Linked DNA regions of Homo sapiens: regions 1 and 3 are each linked to region 2. The links are contacts of gene promoters, found by promoter capture Hi-C in blood cells and fetal thymus (Javierre and others, 2016). All regions are on one chromosome and are shown on one strand. The core of a region is centred on a gene start or on the middle of the fragment in contact, and the rest is flanking DNA. Distances in the headings are between cores, read along the strand shown. Region 1 overlaps TXLNA (taxilin alpha). Region 2 holds the start of HDAC1 (histone deacetylase 1). Region 3 overlaps BSDC1 (BSD domain containing 1).

Region 1 (2,700 bases), core at 65-2,564, 110 kb after region 2:
CACTTTGGGAGGCCGAGGCAGGCGGATCACGAGGTCAAGAGATCGAGACCATCCTAACATGGTGAAACCCCATCTCTACTAAAGACATACACAAAAAAATTAGCTTGGTGTGGTGGCACGCGCCTGTAGTCCCAGTTACTCCGGAGGCTGAGGTAGGAGAATCGCTTGAACCCAGGAGGCGGAGGTTGCAGTGAGCCCAGATCGCGCCACTGCACTCCAGCTTGGTGACAGAGCGAGACTCTGTCTAAAAAAATTAATTAATTAAAAAAAAAAGGCAGGGTACAGTGGCTTACGCCTGTAATCCCAGCACTTTGGGAGGCTGAGGCGGGCGGATCACGAGGTCAGGAGATCAAAACCATCCTGGCTAACACAGTGAAACCCCGTCTCTACTAAAAAAAATACAAAAAAATTAGCCGGGCATGGTAGCAGGAGCCTGTAGTCCCAGCTACTCGGGAGGCTGAGGCAGGAGAATGGCGTGAACCCAGGAGGTGGAGCTTGCAGTGAGCCGAGATCGCGCCACTGCACTCCAACCTAGGGACAGAGCGAGGCTCCATCTCAAAAAAAAAAAAAAAAAAAAAAGGCAGGGTACGGTGGCCCACGCCTGTAATCCCAGCACTTTGGGAGGCCCAGGTGGGCGGATCATGAGGTCAGGAGATCGAGACTATCCTGGCTAACACAGTGAAACCCTGTCACTACTAAAAAAATACAAAAATTAGCCGGGCATGGTGGCAGGCGCCTGTAGTCCCAGCTACTCGGGAGGCTGAGGCAGGAGAATGGTGTGAACCCGGGAGGCGGAGCTTGCAGGGAGCTGAGATCGCGCCAGTGCACTCCAGCTTGGGTGACAGAGCAAGACTCCATCTCAGTTGGGGGTGGGGGGTGAAGAAGATGATACTTTCCATGTATGTGACGTTAAGATTTTTTCCTTTTTCTTTTTTTGAGATGGAGTCTCACCCTGTCACCCAGGCTGGAGTGCAATGGCATGATCTCAGCTCACTGAAAACTCTGCCTCACGGGTTCAAGTGATTCTCCTGCCTCAGCCTCCCGAGTATCTGGGATTATAGGCACGTGCCACCACGCCCGGCTGATTTTTTGTATCTTTAGTAGAACTGGGGTTTCACCATGTTGGCCAGGCTGGTCTCGAACTCCTGACCTCATAATCTGCCTGCCTTGGCCTCCCAAAGTGCTGGAGTTACAGGTGTGAGCCACTCTGCCTAGTCGTCCCTAAGATTTTTTAAAGTTCCTCTTTAAAGTAAGAGGATACATAAGGGGAAAAGGGAATAGGAATAAAACATGGATATAATGACACTCGACTTAGATTCTAGATTCTTTTTTTTTTTTTTTGAGACAGAGTTTCACTCTTGTCACCCAGGCTGGATGTAGTGGCACAATCTCAGTTCACTGCAACCTCTGCCTCCCGGGTTCAAGCCATTCTCCTGCCTCAGCCTCCCAAGTAGCTGGGATTACAGGCGTGTGCCAGCATGTCCAGCTAATTTTTGTATTTTTAGTAGAGACGGGATTTCATCATGTTGGCCAGGCTGTTCTCGAACTCCTGACCCTCAGGTGATCCACCCGCCTCGGCCTCCCAAAGTGCTGCAATTACAGGCGTGAGCCACCACACCCGGCCTAGACTCTTAAACATACATACCCTGCTGTAAAATGACTGTCACTGCCTATTCCCCATTGCCTGTGACTGAGTCAGGGAGCCTTCCCTCTGCCTCCCCAGAAGGGCCCAAGAGATCAGCATGGAGACTGCAATTCGCAGGCATGTGTGCCAAATCCAACCCACGGATGGGTTTTGTTTGGCTCTTACCATTTTAGCTGCTAACTATGAAAAAATCTAGAGTTCTCACATAACTCTAGATTTCTGGCTTTTCTTTATTTAAAAAAAAAAAAAAAAAAAAAAAGCCTGACTGCACCCAGCCTGTAGTTTTGCCTGCTCTCAGTTGGCTAGCTGAGAGCAACTAATCAGGAAGCAGTAAAGCCTCCATCTTCAGGTGGCCCCATGGCCAGCCCAGCTTATGCAGATATTTGGGTTTTCAACTCTGGCCTAGTCTAATTTTCTTACTGTAAAGAGAAATATAAACTAAGACCCAGAGAGGAGAAGGGACACACCCAAGGTCACACAGCAGGTAGTACTGGCTGGCACAGGAGCCTACCCTAGCCTCCCGTCTCCATTTTCTCAAAGAGAGAACAGGTCCCATGCCAAGCTCCAGTTGCTCCAAAACCCAGAAGGCTTTGTGCTGGTAACTCCTGCATCTCTCTATGCCGTGGCCCCCACATCCCTGGCTTTGATTAGACTAGAGTGACTTGCTGCTCTGAGAAGTACCGTTTTCCTTTGAATCCTGGCAGAACAGACTGGCCCAGAGAACGTCAAGTCCAAACTCCCTCTCCTCACCAGCTTCACAAAGAGCCGCCCTCTGCTCACCCAAACCCTTGGCTTTTTTCTTCTCCTGTGGCCTTCGATGGTCTCGGTCTCCGACCTCGTCACTCTGCCGGATCTCTTCTGTGTTTGGATCCCCCTTGGAGGGTTCCTTCTCTCCATTGACTACTGGAGTTGGTTCAGGCTCCCCATTCCTTGCCACATAGGTCCGGGACTTCTCTGCATCTTCGGGTTCAGCCGGCTCACCCTGTGCCCCATCCTCGCCGGGGCCCCCCTGGTTATTGTCCACACAGTATGTGCTCAGTATGTCTTCCAGTTGG
Region 2 (2,700 bases), core at 80-2,579:
GTGCCCTCAATAAAGTCCAACTTCCTTGGGACAGCATGCCCAGCCCTTCATGGTCCGGTCCCTATTTACATCTTTTTTTTTTTTTTTTTTTAAGACAGAGCCTCGCTCTGTTGTCCAAGCTGGAGTGCAGTGGCACGATCTCAGCTCACTGCAACCTCTGCCTCCCGGGTTCTAAGGGATTCTCCTGCCTTAGGCTCCAGAGTAGCTGGGATTACAGGCGCACACCACCATGCGCGGCTAATTTTGTATTTTTAGTAGAGACGGGGTTTCACCATGTTGGCCAGGCTGGTCTCGAACTCCTGACCTCAGGTGATCCACCAGCCTCGGCCTCCCAAAGTGCTGGGATTACAGGCGTGAGCCACCACGCCCGGCCAAATGCCTGTTTTTCAAAGGTCCTGTCCTCTCTCTTGCCTCTGAAACTTGCTGTTATCTTTGCCTTCCCTGTGCCTGGCTAAGAACTCCTGTTCTTCAGGTCCTAACTAAGATGTCCCCTCCTTCGCTGACTCCTCAGGTGGAGTTCGGTGCCTCTTCTCTGTGCTCCCCTAACACTCTGAGCTCTGACACGGAGAGAACTTCGGTCACTGGGAAGGGTGACCCGATCAACCCCACGGCCCCAGCCCCTCAACACTTCCTCGAACACAGTAACCTGCTTGAGAGATTAAGTGAGAAGTCTGTTTTAACAGGTTGCATCCTTCTCCTTGCAACCCCTGGCGCCCCACGTCGCAGTAGCAACCGCAGGCCCCGCTCAGAGGCTGGGGGAGGGGAGGCGGGCAACCAGTCGTGCAGGACTCTTCCCCCAGAAAAGATGAGGAAGGGACGGGGCAGGGAAGAGCTTTGGGTTCTCGGCAAGAAAATGTATCCTTGCAGCCGTCTCCATCAGATTCAGCCTCCCCGCTCCGACGCACCCTCCCCTCTAGGAGTCCCACTCAAACTCTCCACATCAGACTTCCTCAGAATCTTCCCATCAAGATTACCTCACGCTTCCCCCACGCGATCCCCTCTTGGTCTCAGCCTCGATCTCCCTTCCTCGCAGCCTCCTCCCTCAGCCTCGACTTCCCCCTCGCAGCCTCCTCTCCGAGCCTCTCCCCAGCGCCTCAGCCTCCCGCAGCCTCCCATCGGCGCTCCAGCCTCAGCCTCCAGGTTCCCGGTCCGGCCCGGCCTGGCCCCGCCCCCGCCGCGAGGACGGTGCTCACCGTCGTAGTAGTAACAGACTTTCCTCCGGGTGCCCTGCGTCTGCGCCATCTTGCTCGCCTCCCGTCCCTACCGTCAGTCGGTCCGTCCGCCCTCCCGCCCGCGGCTCCGCTCAGCGTCCGACCCAGGGGGGAGGGGGCGGGCCTCCGGCCCGCCCCGCCCGTCCCCTCCTGGGCTCACCTATAGCCGCGCAGCCCGGGCACCGCTCCAGCCAATCAGCTTGCGCAGACACGGGCCCGGAACTCGGCAGGGGGCAAGGGCAGCCCGGAGAGGCCGCCGAGGGCCCCCTGGGCCTGTACCAAGGTCTGCGACAGATGGGTGGGGAGCCGCCCGGGGACCGTACCATCAGTCCCGGGGGAGGAAAGCAGCTCTGTAAACTTAACAGTCCCACTTCGTCGTGAAAAGCGTGCTTGGAGATCGGAGGCCAACTTTCTGATTTTACGGAGAATAAACCGAGGCCTACAGGGGAAAAGTGACTTGCACAAGGTCACTCAGCCAATAAAAGGGCTGAACCTGGGTTAGAAAGCGAGTTTGTGGCCGCAAAGGAGGGCTACAGAAAAATAATTAAAAAGAAAAGCAACACGCGGGTTTGGAGAGGAAGAAACCGACAAGAAAGGGAAAGAAAGCTAATGTTTGTCGAGGGGCTGCTGTGTGCCAAGTACTGTGCGACACTTTACCAATGTTATTTCAGTTTTTCCTCAAAACAGCTCTCGGCCAAGGGCTTTTTACCTCCATTTTACAGGACAGGATAAAGAAGTTCAGACTTCTGTGAATTATTCAAAGTTACACAAAGTAATTAAATTCAATTTTTTAATTGTACAGGGTTTTTAAAATGCTTTCTTTGCACCAGAGGCACTGTAACAAAGTGACAGAACCCAGCCTTTCAGACTCCAAAATCTACCTCCCTGATGCAGTCACCCAGGATGACTAAGTAGGCGTCTCTTTAGACAGGAGGAAATGGGATTATCCTATGATAGGAGGGCAGGTTTCCTTTCTTTTCTTTCCCTGTTTTTTTTTTTTTTTTTTTTTTTGAGACAAGAGTTTCGCTCTAGTTGCCCAGGCTGGAGTGCAATGGTGTGATCTCGGCTCACCACAATCTCTGCCTCTGTGTTCAAGCGGTTCTCCTGCCTCAGCCTCCCGAGTAGCTGGGATTACAAGCATGTGCCACCATGCCCGGCTAATTTTGTATTTTTGGTAGAGACTGGGTTTCTCCGTGTTGGTCCAGGTGGTCTCGAACTCCTGACCTCAGGATCCGCCCACCTCGGCCTCCCAATATGCTGAGATTACGGGCGTGAGCCACAGCGCCCGGCCTAGGAGGGCAGGTTTCTCAGCCTGGTAGCTAATGACATTTTGGGCCAGGTAATGCTTTTTTGTAGGAAGCTATTCTGTGCATTAACAGCTTCTGTGAAGCTGTTCTGTGCCTGGGCAACTAGAGTGAAACTCTTGTCTCAAAAAAAAAAAAAATTAAGCAGCATCCTTAGCCTCTACCCACTAGATGCCAGTAGCACC
Region 3 (2,803 bases), core at 285-2,784, 97 kb before region 2:
GACAGCTATCCTAGACAGCCCACAGTCATCTCAAGTTCTGCGTGCCCAAAGTCATTGTTACCACCTTGTCTCTAGGACTGCTCCTCCTCCAGGATTTTCTCACTTAGCTGGCAGTACTGCATCTACGCAGTCACCTATTTTAGCAGCCTGTGGTGCTTCCATGATTCTTTTCTAGCCCTCAGTCAACATACCTGTTCAGTCACCAAATCCACCTTCTTCCATCTCCTGTATCTTGAACCAGTCTCATCCTCTCCATCTTTACTAGCATTGTCCTTACTCACATTTTTCTATTTTCTTTCCTGGATTATTGCAGCAGCCTCCTGACTGGTCTTCCTTCTTCCTCTTCTAATCTTCTCGCCTCTGGACCTTTCCTCCATTCCAGTCACTGGAGTAATTTAGTGAAAAGGCAAATCTCATGTCCCACCCACTTCAAACCTTTGGTGGCTCCCCATCATCCATAGGGCTGACCAGGCTCTCCCTGGTTGCCCTTGGCAACCTCTCCAGCTTTATCCCTCACCACTCTTGCTTCACATTTTATGTCCATCAGGACTGTAATGCTTGTAGACGTCACTAAACCCATGTCAACACTTCTTAGCTGACTCCTGTTCTTTTTTTTTTTTTTTTTTGAGACAGGGTCTCACTCTGTTACCCAGACTGGAGTGCAGTGGCATGATCACAGCCCACTGCAGCCTCAACCACCCAGGCTCAGGTGATTCTCCCACCTCAGCCTCCTGGGTAGCTGGGACTATAGGCGTGTACCACCACTTCTGGCTAATTTTTTGTATTTGTGTGTGTGTGTGTGTGTGTGTGTGTGGAGACGGTTTTGCCATAGTGTCCAAACTGGTCTCAAATTCCTGGGCTCAAGCAATCCTCCTGCCTCGGCTTCCCAAAGTGCTGGGATTACAGGCATCAGCCACTGCACCTGGCCCACATCAATACTTCTTAACCAACTCCTGTTCATTCTTTAAGGGCCCATTCCAGGCTTCTGGTCACCACATCTTCCCAACCTCCCCATAGTACAGCAGCTACTGCTCTGCCCTTGCACATCAGCACTATCATGGGACCATTTTCCCCAGTAGACTGTGACCTGCTTGAGGGCAACGTATGTTCATGTTTGTCTGCTCAGAGCTCACAGTCTAGCGGGAAGACAACTGTTTAGTCACACAAGTGGTTACATAATTGAAATTTCAATGGTCCATGTAAATTTAACAAGCAAACATTTTTTGAGTACCTACTGTATGCTCTGTGTCAGATACTGGGGAACCATCAGGGAACAAAACACATAGGACCTGTGTTCACACAACTCACAGTTTATCCAGGAAGACAGACATTGAACAGGTCATCTGAAGTCTAAACTATGTTCAGTGTTAGAAAAGAGATAAATTGGGAGGCCAAGGTGGGCGAATCATGAGGTCAGGAGATCGAGACCATCCTGGCTAACACAGTGAAATCCCGTCTCTACTAAAAATACAAAAAATTAGCTGGGCTTGGTGGCGGGCGCCTGTAGTCCCAGCTACTCGGGAGGCTGAGGCAGGAGAATGGCATGAACCCGGGAGGCAGAGGTTGCAGTGAGCAGAGATCGCGCCACTGCACTCCAGCCTGGGTAACAGAGCGAAACTCCATCTCAAAAAAAAAAAAAAAGAAAAAAAAGAAGAAGAGATAAAGCAGGGAGAGCCAGCTGAGCCTGAAGAGGCAGCAGGAAGCCCCTCTAGGGAAATGAAGCATAGACGTTGAGGATGAACAGGAGTTTTCCAGATAAGAGGGTTCCTTCATCGTGTTTACAGACTTGGTTTTTTTGAAGAGTTAGAACTCTGTATCAGGGAGAGGAAACAATGTGTTCAGATACTCTGAGGCAGGACAGATGCTAGGGCATTTTAGAAACTTGAGGAAGGCCAGCTGGAGCTCAGTGAACGGCACAGTGGTAGGGGATACCAGTCTGCCAGAGGCCAAGTTATATAGGCTTTGTAAGTAAAGGTGGATTTTCAATTTGCTCTTAGGATAGTGTGTAAACTTAAAGAGTGTAAAGCAGCACGGTCTGCCCTGACAGACAAAGCACCCACTGGGTGTCATAAGGAGAATGAAGTAAAGGTGGCTGAGACAACCTGGGAGGAATCCAGGTGAAAGAATAAGTTGGCCTGGACTAAGATGGTGGCAGTGTGGATAGAAAGAGTGAATCGGTAAATGACCCAGGGCACAATTTCATGGTGCTGTGAAATATTTTTTAAAATTTTAATAAAAGTAAATAAGTAAATGACCTCCTCCACCCCCAATTAAGGAGTCCTGAGTTGATATGGAGGCATGATTACCACCCCTAGAGAAGCCTGTAGCTGATAGACTGTGCCATTCAGAAACTTCCCAAGCTAATGAAAAGTGGGCAGGCCCTTCCCAGAAGAACAAACCACAGGAGCGCTCAAAAACATGCTTTAAAAAATGCAGGTGATTATCCCCGTGTAAGATGAAAGGGCTTGCAGGGGGAGTGGCCACTGAGATACTCCAGGAAGCATCCTAGAGTTGGTGAGTCTGAAGCAAGACAGGGCAAGACCTAGAAGTGAGCTGAGGGTCTGCTTTCTCAAGTGAGGTCTGGGTGCAGGCTGAGAAACAGATTGGTTTAGCAGGAGCAAATATGCATTCTGCCCAAAGGAGCTTTGTATATGAATAGAACCTCGGGATGGTAGAACCAAGAAGGCCTCCAAGAGAATCTGATCTAGTCTTTCTCTTGACCGCTTCCTCCTTTGTTGAATGTAAAAAATCACATGCCTTTTTACTGATATTAAATTGTTAAGAATTACTCATAAAATAGCTT

Evidence for each region. The method cuts DNA at HindIII sites, captures the fragments that hold promoters and counts their contacts. A CHiCAGO score of 5 or more calls a contact.
Region 1: a fragment that was not itself captured here is called in contact with the fragment with the promoter of HDAC1 in region 2 in 4 of 17 cell types (total CD4 T cells, non-activated CD4 T cells, naive CD8 T cells and 1 more); the score reaches 7.0 in total CD4 T cells.
Region 3: a fragment that was not itself captured here is called in contact with the fragment with the promoter of HDAC1 in region 2 in 3 of 17 cell types (total CD8 T cells, non-activated CD4 T cells and naive CD4 T cells); the score reaches 5.8 in total CD8 T cells.

The regions. Positions count from the first base shown.
Region 1 is chr1:32,181,303-32,184,002 of GRCh38, reverse strand. TXLNA (taxilin alpha) reads right to left here. Exons shown (of 11, transcript NM_175852.4): 3 at 2,426-2,700. Among named protein-coding and RNA genes, the nearest start is that of TXLNA, 3.0 kb to the right of the region's middle. The HindIII fragment of the contact is 4,926 bases long and covers 1-2,700 here.
Region 2 is chr1:32,290,712-32,293,411 of GRCh38, reverse strand. HDAC1 (histone deacetylase 1) reads right to left here and starts at 1,329. Exons shown (of 14, transcript NM_004964.3): 1 at 1,194-1,329. The coding sequence starts at 1,242. RefSeq lists enhancers at 1-464, 536-595 and a silencer at 1,206-1,615. The HindIII fragment of the contact is 8,638 bases long and covers 1-2,700 here.
Region 3 is chr1:32,387,796-32,390,598 of GRCh38, reverse strand. All of the region lies in intron 2 of BSDC1 (BSD domain containing 1), which reads left to right. Among named protein-coding and RNA genes, the nearest start is that of BSDC1, 5.2 kb to the left of the region's middle. The HindIII fragment of the contact is 8,104 bases long and covers 1-2,803 here.